Linked DNA regions of Homo sapiens: regions 2 and 3 are each linked to region 1. The links are contacts of gene promoters, found by promoter capture Hi-C in human tissues and cell types (Jung and others, 2019). All regions are on one chromosome and are shown on one strand. The core of a region is centred on a gene start or on the middle of the fragment in contact, and the rest is flanking DNA. Distances in the headings are between cores, read along the strand shown. Region 1 holds the start of SLC6A13 (solute carrier family 6 member 13). Region 2 has its middle 9.5 kb from the start of IQSEC3. Region 3 overlaps IQSEC3 (IQ motif and Sec7 domain ArfGEF 3).

The links. Contacts are between HindIII fragments. The study calls those that stand out against the background at their distance.
Region 2: a contact is called between a fragment that was not itself captured here and the fragment with the promoter of SLC6A13 in region 1, in 5 of the 25 tissues and cell types used here (dorsolateral prefrontal cortex, hippocampus, liver and 2 more).
Region 3: a contact is called between a fragment that was not itself captured here and the fragment with the promoter of SLC6A13 in region 1, in 3 of the 25 tissues and cell types used here (aorta, dorsolateral prefrontal cortex and mesendoderm cells).

The regions. Positions count from the first base shown.
Region 1 is chr12:260,726-265,312 of GRCh38, reverse strand. SLC6A13 (solute carrier family 6 member 13) reads left to right here and starts at 2,477. Exons shown (of 15, transcript NM_016615.5): 1 at 2,477-2,524. The HindIII fragment of the contact is 8,106 bases long and covers 822-4,587 here.
Region 2 is chr12:54,973-59,559 of GRCh38, reverse strand. No RefSeq gene overlaps it. Among named protein-coding and RNA genes, the nearest start is that of IQSEC3, 9.5 kb to the left of the region's middle. The HindIII fragment of the contact is 6,090 bases long and covers 1-4,587 here.
Region 3 is chr12:75,923-80,509 of GRCh38, reverse strand. All of the region lies in intron 1 of IQSEC3 (IQ motif and Sec7 domain ArfGEF 3), which reads right to left. Among named protein-coding and RNA genes, the nearest start is that of IQSEC3, 11 kb to the right of the region's middle. The HindIII fragment of the contact is 4,163 bases long and covers 1-4,067 here.

The sequences.
Region 1 (4,587 bases), core at 1,228-3,727:
AGGTCTCCAGAGGAGAACCCACCACTTCCTTTGCCACCTTGATGTTGCTCAGAAATGTTCTTTCTTGAAACAAATCGTGCTGCTTTTAAAATTTGTTTCTGTGAAATGTCAAACTAGAAAAAAATTTTATTTGTTCTTATTCCACTCCTAGTAGAGTCAAACAATTTTTGGGAGAGCGTATCATGGCGTACTGTCATTTAAACATACCTGGGATCAACTTGGTACAAACCAGGACTCCTAGGCCTGCTTTTTGCGTGGTTCACTTTGTTTTATACAATCCTGTTGTTGGAAGCACAGCCTTCAATTATCCTCACTGACAATCTCTAGTGAGTCTTAAAACTTATGCAGCCTCTTGAGTAAGAACTGTTGAATACGGATTCTGTTGTTACCTGTTTTCAGGTTTCTTGACTTTGCACCCAGCAGACCAAAGGATGATGGCAACGTGAGGTAGATGCAAGGCTAGTCATGCCTGTTTTGTGTGGAACCCCAGACGGGAAGTTGTGAGGGACTGTCGCCAACATTTATCTACCAGTGGTTCTCAAGCTTTTTTTTTTTTTCTTTAACTTTTGTCAACCTAAGCAGGACAAAAAACCTACCATAGCCATTCCCACTTTATAGAGGAAAAAGAAATTGGGGATAACAAAGATTTGGAGAGGAATAAAATAGGAGTCAACATGGTAACATGGCAGCAGTTATGTAAAAACAAAAGAGTTGGTAAGTAAAGCCAACATTCCTTCATACAACAGCAGCAGCTCACAACCAACTCAGGATAAGCCTGATGATGTCCTTATCACTGACAGTCTTTCCTGGAAGCTGGAAATTGCAACCGTTTGCATATGTGAGGACACAGAAGGGGCTGTGCAACATTGCCAAAGGCTGAATGGTATCTGAGAAAACACCCGTTATCTGGTAATTTTAGATTACAAATGCCAAAGTTTATAATGCATAGTAGGCCATTAGTAAGTACCACTCAGTGATACGTAAAAATGGAAGTCAATAGCACTGCTTTGAAGATGGTCTTTTTTTTACATGAGTTTGTAGGCTGTCTCAGGACGCTTTTGGTTTATTGCTTTACAGAGCTCAGTCTAACAGATGAAAGCTTGAAAGGGGAGAGGAACAGGGGCCGCTGAAACATAAGAATAATAATTTCCAAGAAGCTTCTGGGAAGCTCTCCAGGTATTACCATGCAGTGTTTCCATGCCCCTACCCCATGCCCTTGAGTTAGATGAGGGATCAAGGAAACGGAAACTACCTTAGACTCTTCGATCCGTCTTTCTTTCCACACTTCTCCGTCATCTCAAGATGTCTCTATCACCTCACTCACTCATTGCCGCATCCCCTACCTAACTCATTCTCACAGTCTGGCCAGAGCCCAGCTTAGCTCAGGGGTCTCTCAGTCCCGTCTCCTTCAAGAAGACTTCCGGGCTCACTGCTCACTGTGAATAATCCCTTAAGGATGAATAACAGCTGCCATTTACAGTTAGTCATCATCTCCTGAAATCTCAAGCTAGACAGTGGCATACGTAGGACTCAGACCCCACACTCTCTGGTGTCAAAGTCTGAGCAGGTTTCCACTACATGTACTGTGCTTCAGCACATGGCTGAGGTGGGACTCTGCCCTGTCCTAGACTCCAGGCTGAATGAACTACTCTCACAGCCGCCTCTGTGGGCTGTTCCTGCAGAGAAACGAAGCTCCCTGGATGACCTCGGCCTCGCGCTCACCGCCTGCTCCTTCCCTTATAACAGCTTTAGGGCTTTGCTTTATTTTAAACGTTGGCACTTCCTTTTCTCTATTGATTTAAAAAATATTTTAAAATTCTAGCATATTAAAAAATCTAAACAATATTGAAAAAGTGGGGAAAAAATCTCCCTTACTGCCATCTCCTGATCTCAGTTCCACTCTACAAATGTAACTACTATTAATCATTTAGCGAAGATTTTTTCAGACTTTTTCTATATGTGTATAAATGTCTGTGTATGTTTGGGAAGTTTTTCTGACATCTCAGAGTTCTGTATCTATGTATCTTTGTTCTAAATCATCGTCCATTCCACATTGCAAGCTGCGAAACGGTAAGATAAATGTATTTTTAAATTAATCTACACAGCACCTGACCAAAGGAATACCTATTCTTGATGGATTTATAGGAGCACTTGTGTTGGAGACAGGGGTGGGAGGCAGGATCCCTCCAGAGAGACCCTGAGCTCACCAGGTGGGAAGCGCACATGAGCTCCGGGGAGGAGACCACACTTCATAAGCTCACCAGCAACTGGCCCGACCTGCCAGGGCGTGCACACTCCCCAGACTGCGAAATCACTCATGTGTGGGTTGTCCAGTGGCCGAGGGGAGGGGAGGGGAGAAAAGGGGAGGGGGAGGCACAAGGGTGGAATGTGGGCTGGGCCAAGTTTAGAATTTCAAGTGCCACAGAGGCGTTCTGGAACCACACTTTAAATAGCCAGCACCTTCTCCTTCCCCCTTAGATAATTCTTCTCCCCTGACTGGACCTCTGGCAGCAGCTTCACTAAGGTTCGAAATGTTTTCTTCTCTTTTTTTTCTATTTCTGCGTCTCAGACTGCAGGTTGGTGGGATCCATGGGACTTACAACCAAAGGACTTTTTTCTTACCCTCGCCTAGAAAGTACGCTTCTGACATGTATGTGTGCAAATGCAAAGATTATGTGCTATTTTCTTGACTTTCTGAAACTTGGGTGGCTGTTGACTTAAGTGACACTGTGATTTGGAAAGAGAGAGCCCTAGATTGAGAGGAAAGACAACTGGATTTAACTCCAAGAAAACAAAGTCTTTCTTCTCTGAGAAAAGAGAACAATGATCAACTCTGACAGGACTGAAAGAAAACAAAAATTTGAGTACCTGTTATTCTATTAAGTGTGTATACATATGTATATTTCCTCATTTAATTCTTATAGCTAAGTATATCCTATCTATCATCCCCACTTTTACAGATGAACAAACTAAGGCTCAGAGTCATTCATTAACTTCTCTGAAGTCAGACATTGGTATGAGAAAAAACTAATGTTTGAACCTGGCCTCATCTGACTCTACAGCTCATGACCTTTCAGACACAACATGCTACCTCTGAGAAGCAGCTCTAATGAGGCTAAGGGAGCCAGGAGAAGGCTACTGTTTCTCCTAGGGTCTGGGAGGGTGGAGAAGGGAAGGCTTTCCATCACTGGGAGAGATCCATCAGCTGGTAAAGGGAGGGGAGGCCAGCACAGTCAGTACCTTAGACAACCTTCCCAAAAGGACTGAGGAGCCCTCTTGGGACCAGTTACTTGAGTTTCTCCTTTGTAGAAAGGAGCTCATTCCCTAATTTATCAGATAAACATAGATGCCTGCTGTTCCCTGACTTTTTTTTTTTTTCTTTTTTTTGAGACAGAGTCTCGCTTTGTTGCCCAGACTGGAGTGCAGTGGCGCGATCTCGGCTCACTGCAACCTCTGCCTCCTGGTTTCAAGCGATTCTCCTGCCTCAGCCTCCTGAGTAGCTGGGATTACAGGTGCCTGCCACCATGCCCAGCTAATTTTTGTACTTTTCGTAGAGACGGGGTGTCACCATGTTGGCCAGGCTGGTCTCAAACTCCTGACCTCAGGAGATCCACCCGCCTCGGCCTCCCAAGTGCTGGGATTACAGGCGTGAGCCATTGCACCCGGCCTGTTCACTGACTTTCTAATTTTCTGGGTCAGAGCCAAAGTAGAGTCTGTGGCCAGAAGAGGTTACTGCTGAGAAAGTTCTGTTAACATGAACTTTGCTTGAGGCTTAGAAAAAAGTCCATCTGCCTCCTTCTCCAGAAAAGAGGCCACTCTGCAAAATCAAGGCAGAGTCATTAGAAGATGCTTTTAGTAGACACACCAGTGAACCTAGGCAGCCAATGTAATCAAAGGGATGGAACTGAAAGAGCAGGGGCAGAGTGGGTTTAAGTCCTGGCTGTGCAAGTTAGTAGCTATATGGCAGCAGCAGTCACATTATTTAACCTCTCTGAGCTGCAACTTCCTTATTTATAAAGTGGAGGTAATAATGCTTACATCTCAGGGTTGTTGTGAGAATTAAATGAAAAGAATGTATGTGAAGTGCCTAGTCTATAGTAGTTGCTAACTAAATGTGGGCCACGTCCAGTCATCCTCAATCCCAACAGTGGTCTGGAATGGGCCATTTCTGACAGTGAATGGTTAAAACTGTGGCTTTTTATTTATATCATCTTCTCTACTGTCACAGACTCCTAATTTGTCATCACCAAAAAAGAAAAAGAGCGCATAGTAAATCTCTGCCTTACGCTGATTTCAGAGAGACATAGAAGGAGTACTTAGACCACCTCATCTTACTCACAATTCCTGGTCCCACTCAACCTCTCCCAATCCTTTGACAGGATTTTTTTTTAAAACCGGCTTTTATTTTTATATTACAAAAGTAAAACACATTTTTGATGTAATTGTAGAAAATATAGATAAGGAAATGTTCCTATAACCCAACTGCTGAAAGAAAAACATTTTCATGGCTATCCTACTCCTTCAATGCCTATAAATACTTTATAAAATATTTGTCAAGCATGATCATATTGTATGTACTGTTTTTTA
Region 2 (4,587 bases), core at 1,508-4,007, 210 kb after region 1:
TAGGGTATAGTTTAAGTCCACTGTTTCTTTGTTGGCTTTCTGTCTTGATGACTTGTCTAGTGCTGTCAGTGGAGTATTGAAGTCCCCCACTATCATTGTGTTGCCTTCTATCTCATTTCTTTGGGCTAGTAGTAATTGTTTTATAAATTTTGAAGCTCCAGTGTTAGGTGCATATATATTTAGGACTGTAATATTTTCCTGTTAGACTAGTCCTTTTATCATTATATAATGCCCTTCATTGTCTTTTTTAACTGTTGTTACATTAAAATCTCTTTTGTCTGATATAAGAATAGCTACTCCTGATCACTTTTGGTGTCCATTTGCATGGAATATCTTTTTCCACCCCTTTACCTTAAGTTTATGTGAGTCCTTATGTGTTAGGTGAGTCTCTTGAAGACAGCAGATACTTGGTTGGTGAATTATTATCCATTCTGCCATTCTGTATCTTTTAAGAGGAGCATTTCAGCCATTTACATTCAATGTTAGTATTGAGATTTGAGGTACTATTCTGCTCATTGTGCTGGTTGTTGCCTGAATACCTTGTTTTTTCATTGTGTTATTGTATGGTCCCCATGAGATTTATGCTTTAAGGAGGTTCTATTTTTGTGTATTTCAAGGTTTTGTTTCAAGATTTATAACTACTTTTAGCAGTTCTTGTAGTGCTGGCTTGTTGGTAGTGAATTCTCTCAGTATTTGTCTGAAAAAGACTTTATCTTTCCTTCATTTATGATGCTTAGTTTCACTGGATACAAAATTCTTGCTGGATAATTATTTTGTTTAAGGAGGCTAAAGATAGGATCTCCGTCCCTCCTGGCTTGCAGAGTTTCTGCTAGGAAGTCTGCTGTTAATTTAACAGGCTTTCCTTTATTGGTTACCTGATACTTTTGCCTCACATCTCTTAAGATCCCTTTTTTCTTTTCAACTTTAGATAACCTGATGACTATGTGGCTAAGTGATGATCTTTTGGTGATGAACTTCCCAGGTGTTCTTCGAGCTTCTTGTATTTAGACGTCTAGATCTCTAGCAAGGCCAGGGAAGTTTTCTTCAATTATTCCCTCAAATAAGTTTTTCAAACTTTCAGATTTCTCTTCTTCTTCAGGAATACCAATTACTCTTATGTTTGGTCATTTAACATAATATCAAACTTCCTGGAGGCTTTGTTCATTTTTAAAATGCTCTTTTCTTTGTCTTTGTCAGGTTGGATTAATTCAAAAGCCTTGTCTTTGAGCTCTGAAGTTCTTTCTTCTACCTGTTTGATTCTATTGTTGAAACTTTCCAGTGTGTTTTGCATTTCTCTAAGTGCGTCATTAGTTTCCAGAAGTTGTGATTGCTTTTTAATTATGAGATCTATTTATTTGGAGATTTTTTTCATCCACATCCTGTATTATTTTTTAAGTTTCTTTAAGTTGATTTTCACCTTTCTCTGATACCTCCTTGAGTAGCTTAATAATTGACCTTCTGAATTCTCTTTCTGACAATTCAGAGATTTCTTCTTGGTTTGGATCCATGTTTGCTGGTGAGCTAGTGTGACCTTTTGGGGTGTTATAGAACGTTGTTTTATTATACTACCAGAATTGTTTTTCTGGTTCTTTCTCATTTGGGTAGACTATGTCAGAGGAAAGATTTGGGGTGCAAGGGCTGCTGTTCAGATTTGTCCCACTGGCGATCCTTTGATGTGGTGCTCTCCCCTTTCCTCTAGAGATGCGGCTTTCTGAAAGCTGGACTGCAGCGATTGTTATTGCTTTTCTCGGTCTAGCCACCCAGCGGGGCTACCAGGCTCTGGGCTGTTACTGGGGAGTGTCTGCAAAGAGTCCTGTGATGTGATTCATCTTCAGGTCTCTCAGCTGTGGATACCAGCACCCGCTCAGCTGGAGGTAGCAGGGGAGTGAAGTGGACTCTGTCAGAGTCCTTGGTTGTAGTTTTGTTTAGTGTGCTGTTTTTCTCGAATGCTGGTTATACTAGCAATGAAGTTGCTACATGGACAGACTCAGGGCCTCTGGGGACCCAAGATGTTACAGGCAGTGGAATTGGCTGTTGTTTTCTCCTTTTTTGGAGCAGTGCTGTTCTGTTATGAGTTGCTGTAATGGCTTGAGTTGGTTGGCCTCCCACTAGGAGGTGGTGCTTTCAAGAGAGCATTAGCTGTGGTAGTATAGGGGTGGATACAAGCTTGCTCTAAGGTCACCTGGGTAAGTATTTGGGTTTCTCAGGTGATGGGCAGGGCCATAGAGCTCCCATGAGTTCGTCTTTTGTCTTCAGCTACCAGGGCTGGTAAAGAAACACCATTAGGTTGGGGCAGTGTTAGGCATGTCTGAGCTCAGACTCTCCTAGGGCTGGGCTTGCTGTGGCCACTGTGGGGGATGGGGGGTTGTTCTCAGGTCAGTGGAGTTATGCTCCAAGAGGGATTATGGCTGCCTCTGATGCTTCATACAAGTCCCAGGGAAGTGGGGGAAAGCCGGCAGCAACAGGTCTCACCCAGCTCCCGTGTAGCCAGCAAGGCCAGTGCTCCTGTCATGCTCTCCCGACAGAGCTGAATTTATATCCAGGCCTCAGGTTTGCAAGGCTGAGATATTGCCCCAGGCTACAAGCCTCTCTGCTGAGAAAGCAAGCAGGGCTTTCAGGTCTCACCCCTCTCTGCTTGCCTTGGCTTCTGTGCTCATATCTGCACTTCCCGTTTTTGCCCTACCCCACAATGCTGTCCAGGAAAATTCATGCTCAGTCGAAATTATTACAAAGTTCTGCTGGAAGTCTCCTCCTTGTGACCCTTCCCCAGTCCCACTCTCTGCCCTCCCTGAGGACCCCTGTGAGAGAAAGTCAGAAATGGCTTCCCTGGGCTTCCCTGGGGGCTGGGAGTACTTACAGAGCTCTTCTCACCGCTGCTTCTACTTTTATATTTCACTCGGCTCTCTAAATTTATTTCACCTCTACGTAAGGTTAAATCCTTCTCCTGTGATCTGGATTTTCAGTTTCCCCAGTAAGGATGTGTATTTGGAGGCAGACCTTCCCCCTCTCACACTTTAGGCACTCACAGTTTTTTGGCTGTCTCATGAAGTTTGCAGCGGCGAGCTGCTTCTTTCAAAGGGTCTGTGAATTCCTTTGGGTTTCCTGGTATGTTTTGCGGTAGTTCTTGGAGCAAAAGTTCATAATGTGAGTCTTCACACACTGTTCTGTCTCCATCTGAGTGGGAGCTGCAAGTTAGACCTGCCTCCTATTTGCCATTTTTTTCTGAGTCCCCTTTTTTAGTTTTTTGAGACAGGGTCTCACTCCATCACCCAGGCTGGAGTGAAGTGGTATGATCACAGCTCACTGCAGCCTCAACCTCACAGGCTCAGGTGATCCTCTCACCTCAGCCTCCCTAGTAGCTGGGACTACAGGTGCATGTCACTACATCCAGCTAATTTTTGTATTTTTTGTAGAGACAAAGTTTTCCCATGTTGTGCATGCTGGTCTAAAACTCCTGGGATCAAGCAATCTGCCTTCCTCAGCCTCCCAAAATGATGGGATTACAGGTGTGAGTCACCATGCCTGGCCATGTTTTTCTTTTTTGCTCAGCATAATACTTTTGAGGTTCCTCCATTCTGTTATAGGTATCATTCATTTGTTCCTTTTATTTTAGAGTTGTACTCACAGTAGATGTACCATAATTCATGTCATCAACTGTTGATGGACATTTTGGTTGTTTCCGGATTCTGGTTATTTTGAATAAAGCTGCTGTGATTATTAATGGACAAGTTTTTGTGGGGACATATATTTTAATATGTTTCATGTGTTTTATTAAGAGTAAAAACATAGAATTGAAATTGCTAGATCATATAAAAGTATGTATTGGCTGGGCGCAGTGGCTTATACCTGTAATCCCAGCCTGGATCATGAGGTCAGGAGATCAAGACCATCCTGGCTAACACGGTGAAACCCTGTCTCTACTAAAAATACAAAGAAATTCGCCAGTCATGGTGACGGGCACCTGTAGTCCCAGCTACTCGGGAGGCTGGGGCAGGAGAATGGTGTGAACCCGGGAGGTGGAGCTTGCAGATAGAGTGGGTGAGTTGCTTGAAGTGACACAGCCATGGAGGCACAACTAGGGCTGAAACCCATGCCTCCTACCCTAAGCCCCGCCCCTATTTCTCTGCACCACACATTAGGACGTCTGATGTGAAGAGAGTACCTGGGGCAGGGAGTTAGCGATGATCCTGAAAATGGATGCTTGATGACGTGATGTCAAGTATGCAAAGGGAACAGAGGTGCACAGAAATAAAGTGACTTGTCCAAAGCTAGTACACAGCAGAGCCAGAAATGCCACCCAGACCAGGTTGCCCTGAGTTTTCTCAGCCAGGGGTTCTCTTAAACGCAGCCCGAGGCACAAATTTTTTGTGTCTCACATAGCGACAGTCAATTGAGGGGATGCAGTGTACAGCCTAGGGATGGGAGGGCATCTCTGGGTACCTGCTATAGTCACATTCTGAGCTAGGAAAACCCTACTCTCCCCCGATGCCCGCCTGATGGGTGGAGCCAGTCCTGCCAGGCACTGAGCCATCTGGAGCACCCAGGCCCTCACCCCTTCTCCCAGGACACCATTTCCTTGGAGCTTCT
Region 3 (4,587 bases), core at 737-3,236, 180 kb after region 1:
AAAGAACTAATTTTGTTCTTAGCAAGGACTGGTGTGTGCTCAGCCTGGGGTGAAAAGTAAGGAGTGAGGCTATAAGAACATCTATTTATTTATCAGATCGGTTCAGGAAGGCTTCCTGAAACTGCTGGGGTTGTAGGACTCACCTTCAGCTGGTTTAGAGCCAGATGCTAACACCCTGATGGCTCCCCCAAACTTGATAACTGCTGACAACAAAGGGAGCCCCGGGGAGCAAAAGTGAACCAAGCTGGAGTTTTCAGACGGAGAAGCACTTGCCGAATCGTATTTCTGCTGCAACTGACCCATGTCTGCAGGAGGCTGCAGCAGCACGTCAGCCAGAGAGGCAAGTTCAAATGCAGCTGCTCAATCATACCTGCTTCCTCCCCTCTCTGGCCCTCAGAAAGCCCACCTTAAATAATTACTTGCCTTCCAAAACTCTCAGCAGACAGCAGAAAGGACCTAGCTTCACAGCCATACAGTGGAATATTTTGCGGCTATTAAAAAAGAACGCGGCAGCTCTTTTTATATTTAATAAGGAAAGATCACTAAGATACATTATTAGGGAACAAAACTCAAGGTGCAGAACAGCATATAGGATACTAGTATCTCTGTAAAAAGAAATAAACATTTTGCTTAAATGTACATATAGCTGGAAAGACGTGAGAAATAATAGTGGTTGCTGGAAGGTGTGGGGGCGGGCAGGAATTCGAGTGGTTAGGAAACAAGGATGGGGGCGATGCTTTTCACTGTAAACTCTTTTCTTTTGAATCTTGTACTAGGTCAATGTATTGTCTATTTGAAAAGAGTAAATCAAGCTACTCTGGAGGCTGAATTGGGAAGATTGCTTGAGGCCAGGAGTTCGAGACCAGCCTGGGCAACATAGGGAGGCCTCCGTCTCTACAAAAACAAAGAAAATTAGTCAGGTGTCGTGATGCATGCCTGTAGTCCTAGCTACCTGGGAGGCTGAGGTGGGAGGATCACTTGAGCGCAGGAGTTCGAGGCTGCAGAGAGCAATGATTGTGCCACTGTACTCCAGCCTGGGTGACAGAGTCACCATCTCTTAAAGAAAGGAAAAGGTGAATTACATTAAAAGCAAATTACATTAGCAATTTTGTGTGTATGTTAAAAGCCACCTGTACAAGTACAGGTGGCCAGAAGCCAGAGTCCTTCAAGTGAAAGAGCCCTGAGGCTTTAGCTGACCTCATGTGTGATAGGTCCCATCTGTGGCTGGGGCTGAGAAAGCCAGTGGGTCCCTAGCCACCATCCAAAGCTAGGCGGGGGGTGAGGGAGGGCCTCCCTGTGCCCAAAGCTGGTCTGGCCACAGCCCCTGCGCTGCAGGGCTCACTCCCAGCTCCCTCTGTGTTCTCGGAGAGCAGTAACCCAGGTGAGGCAGGGCCACCCGCAGAACCATGAGGAGCAGGAAGTGCCAGGATCAGGTATGTTCTCCTGAAAGTAGATGGCGGAGGGGTGTCAGTGGACTGGAAGGCAAGGGAAGGGAAGGATGGCTATCTGCCTTCAAATATTTGAAAGGGTGTGAAGTCAAACAGGGAAGGAGTCCTGTTCAGAGCCCCTTAGAAGATGCCGGGGTCAGGGTGGGGGGTGGTGAGGCCTCTCACCTTCAAAGAGCACCTTCTGCCACTGGAAGGGTCCCAAAGTGACAGCAACCACCCCGCGTCGAGCCCTCACTGCGTGCCAGGCACTCGGCTTGCCTGACGCTTTACTGGCATCACCCCTGAATTTTCCCAGCAATCCCAGGAGGGTGGTACCATTCGTATTCCTTATTTTACGAACGGGAAACGCGAGGCTCTCATTGCTTGAGATCACACAGCTAGTGAACGACTGAGTCGAGATTCAAACCCAGGGCCCTGCTCAGAACTATTATGCCGCACCGTAGGCTGAGGAGACCTACAGCCCTGGGAATTCTAAGACTGTGATGCGATAAAACACAAACATAAACATGAGAAGGCCAAGATAAGGCTGGGAGTTTTAAATTTATTTTTTTTTTTTGCTGAGGTGTCTTGGGTACAAGGAAGACAGGAAAGGTGGATGCTGAGTAGAATTTGTACCTCGGTGTCACCGTCCTCATCCCCGACCCCTCCTAGCCGCCCCCGCCTCAATGTCCCCTTCTTCTCCAAGGCAATCTACTCGCACCATCACACTAGCCCCGGCTGCGGCCCGTGGAGGCCGAGGAGGGGCGCGCACCCAGCACCCAGCACCCGGCCCGAAGGCCGCGGCCCCGATGCTCCCCGGGCTGGCGGCGGGCGGTGCCGCAGCGCCGAAGCCCCTTCCGAGCCCCCTCGGGCCGGGAACGCGGGAGGAGGCGGCGCCCTGCGCCGGGAGGCCCCAGACACCGTGGGCGGGCGGCTGTGCGCGGGGGTTGGGGCGCGGGGAGGCGGGGGCGCCCGGGCCGCGCTTCCCTTCGCGGGTGACTCAGCAGCCGCCTTCCTCAGCGGGGCGGCGGGGGCGCGCGGAGGCTGTGGGCACGCGGCTTCCCCGCGCCGGGGTGCAGGTCCTCGCCGCCGCCCCCGCGAGGAAGTGCGAGGCTGGACGCTGGGAGGGGGCGCGTGGGCCGGGAGATTCCTTCTCGCCTGCCGGCTGCCAGCCGGCCCGCCCACGCCGCCGAGATCCCGACTCCACGTTCCCTCCCCACGTAGGAGTCGGGGCAGCGCACGGAGGCGGAAAGGCTTTCCCCAGGCTGGCCCGGCGAGGGTCGGGGGCGCAGGGACTGAGGGGACACCCCAGGGGGGCCAGCTGCACCCCCGCCCTCCCCTCCTGCTGCTCCCGGGTTTTACGCACTCACGGTCGGAGGGAGCCGGCTGGAGATTTCTGGGGTCTTAGATGTGGAAGTCCGTGCAGAATTTACCTCGTTCTGCCCCAGGGCCCCCGGGTACCTGCCACCTTTTGTTCTTGAAAGGGAGAGATGCCCCTCTGCTGAGCCAGCTGGAGCGTCCTTTCTGTGGCTCTTGCCGTGTAGAAGTCTTTTTTCGTATCTAAGCTCGGTCCCTCCTGCTGCGGTGACCCCCAGACAGCTCTGCTTCGCCAGACTCGGCGACTGGGTAGAGTGGGCAAGAAGGAGGACCAAGAACGTCCCCACTGAGCAGGAGGGGAAATCAAGGCCCAGAGAAGGGGAGGGGCTTCCTTCAAGCTTATAGCTGGGGGTGTGTGAGAGAGGTGCTGACCTCAGTACTCAGGAGTTCCGGCTTCTAGGTCAGAGTCCAGCTGCTTGAAAAGATAATATTCCTCCCTGGTGCTGCCCAGCGCAGTGCCTCTACCTGTCTCTGGAAATCCCTTTGGCCTTCTCTGATGGGTTCTTACCATGCGTTAAGTCGCATCAAGACTGTCGGAGATGCCAGATGATGCCGGTTCGGAAGCATCCAGGGTAAAGACCGGGCTGTGCGCGGGAAACACGGAGGCTAGACCCAAGCAGGAAATTCCCACCCGCTTTGCAGAGTTTTTGTAGCTGCTGTTTTTAAATAATCATTGGTTGATTTGATGCATTGAATGAAAATTGTGGTAGATAGGAATCATTCATCAAGGAAGAAATTGTGGAACTCCCTTGTCTCTCTGCCTGGGATGGGGCGTGCATTCCTGATTGGAGGCAGGTGGTTGGCTGGTTTGACCTGGTGCATCCAAAGCCCTGAGAGGTCATTGGTACCAGGCCCTGGCCACAGCTAGGCCGAGATATCCTGCAGGGAAAATCACACTACAGCTTTGTGTGTGTCTGGCCGCCCCGTACCTGAGCTTCCAGACACTATACCTCCGTAGAGTTCAGTGGCACAGCTCCTGTACCTGTCCCCTTCCACACAGCCTTCTTCCCAGGAGCTCACGCCTCTGGGGCCTGGTCTCCCGCATGCTCCAGACAGAGTGGGTATGGAGGCGTGGTAGATTTGCCCCATTTTACAGAGGGGAAGAACCAGGAGGATCTGGCTAGCCAATGGAGATGAAACACTTCATGCAGAGAAAGGAAAAGGAACTGGGAGTGCTGATGGCGTGACCAGGCCAGGGGTCATTGGGAGATACTGAGATAAAGCTATGCTGATCTTTGCTGTGAAGCCTATGCATCTTTAGTATAGTGTGGGTTGTCCTCCAACTCCCCCAGCCCAAGTCAGTAACACACAGTTGCCCACGCAGTCGTGCCCACTCAGGTCCACAAACGCCTGCGCACCACCTGCTCACCGTCCCGTCACGGTATTGACACTTCCCTGAACACAGCTGATCCTGCCTGGTAAGGGGCCTGGAATCTGGGTGCTGCTGGTTCATGACCCCGGAATCCAGCTCTTTCCTCTCTTTTCCCCCAGAGATACGGCCACAATGCCAGCCTCCTTTCCCTCCTGCCTTCATAGGCCCATTGCCCGTTTCTCACTCCACCTGCTGAGGCCTTGTGTGTGTGTGTGTGTGTGTGTGTGTGTGTGTGTGTGTGTGTGTGATGAAACTCTCACTGCAGAGATTTGTTCTTAATGCAGCTTCCTGGGCTGACAGAGTGGTCAGAGGCTGGGGGCAGAGGGAGTAGAGGGCTCTCCCTGCTCATAGCTAGGATTGGGGTCGGTTCTGTTTATTGCCGGGGGCAGTCTTCTCCTCACCCCTCATCCG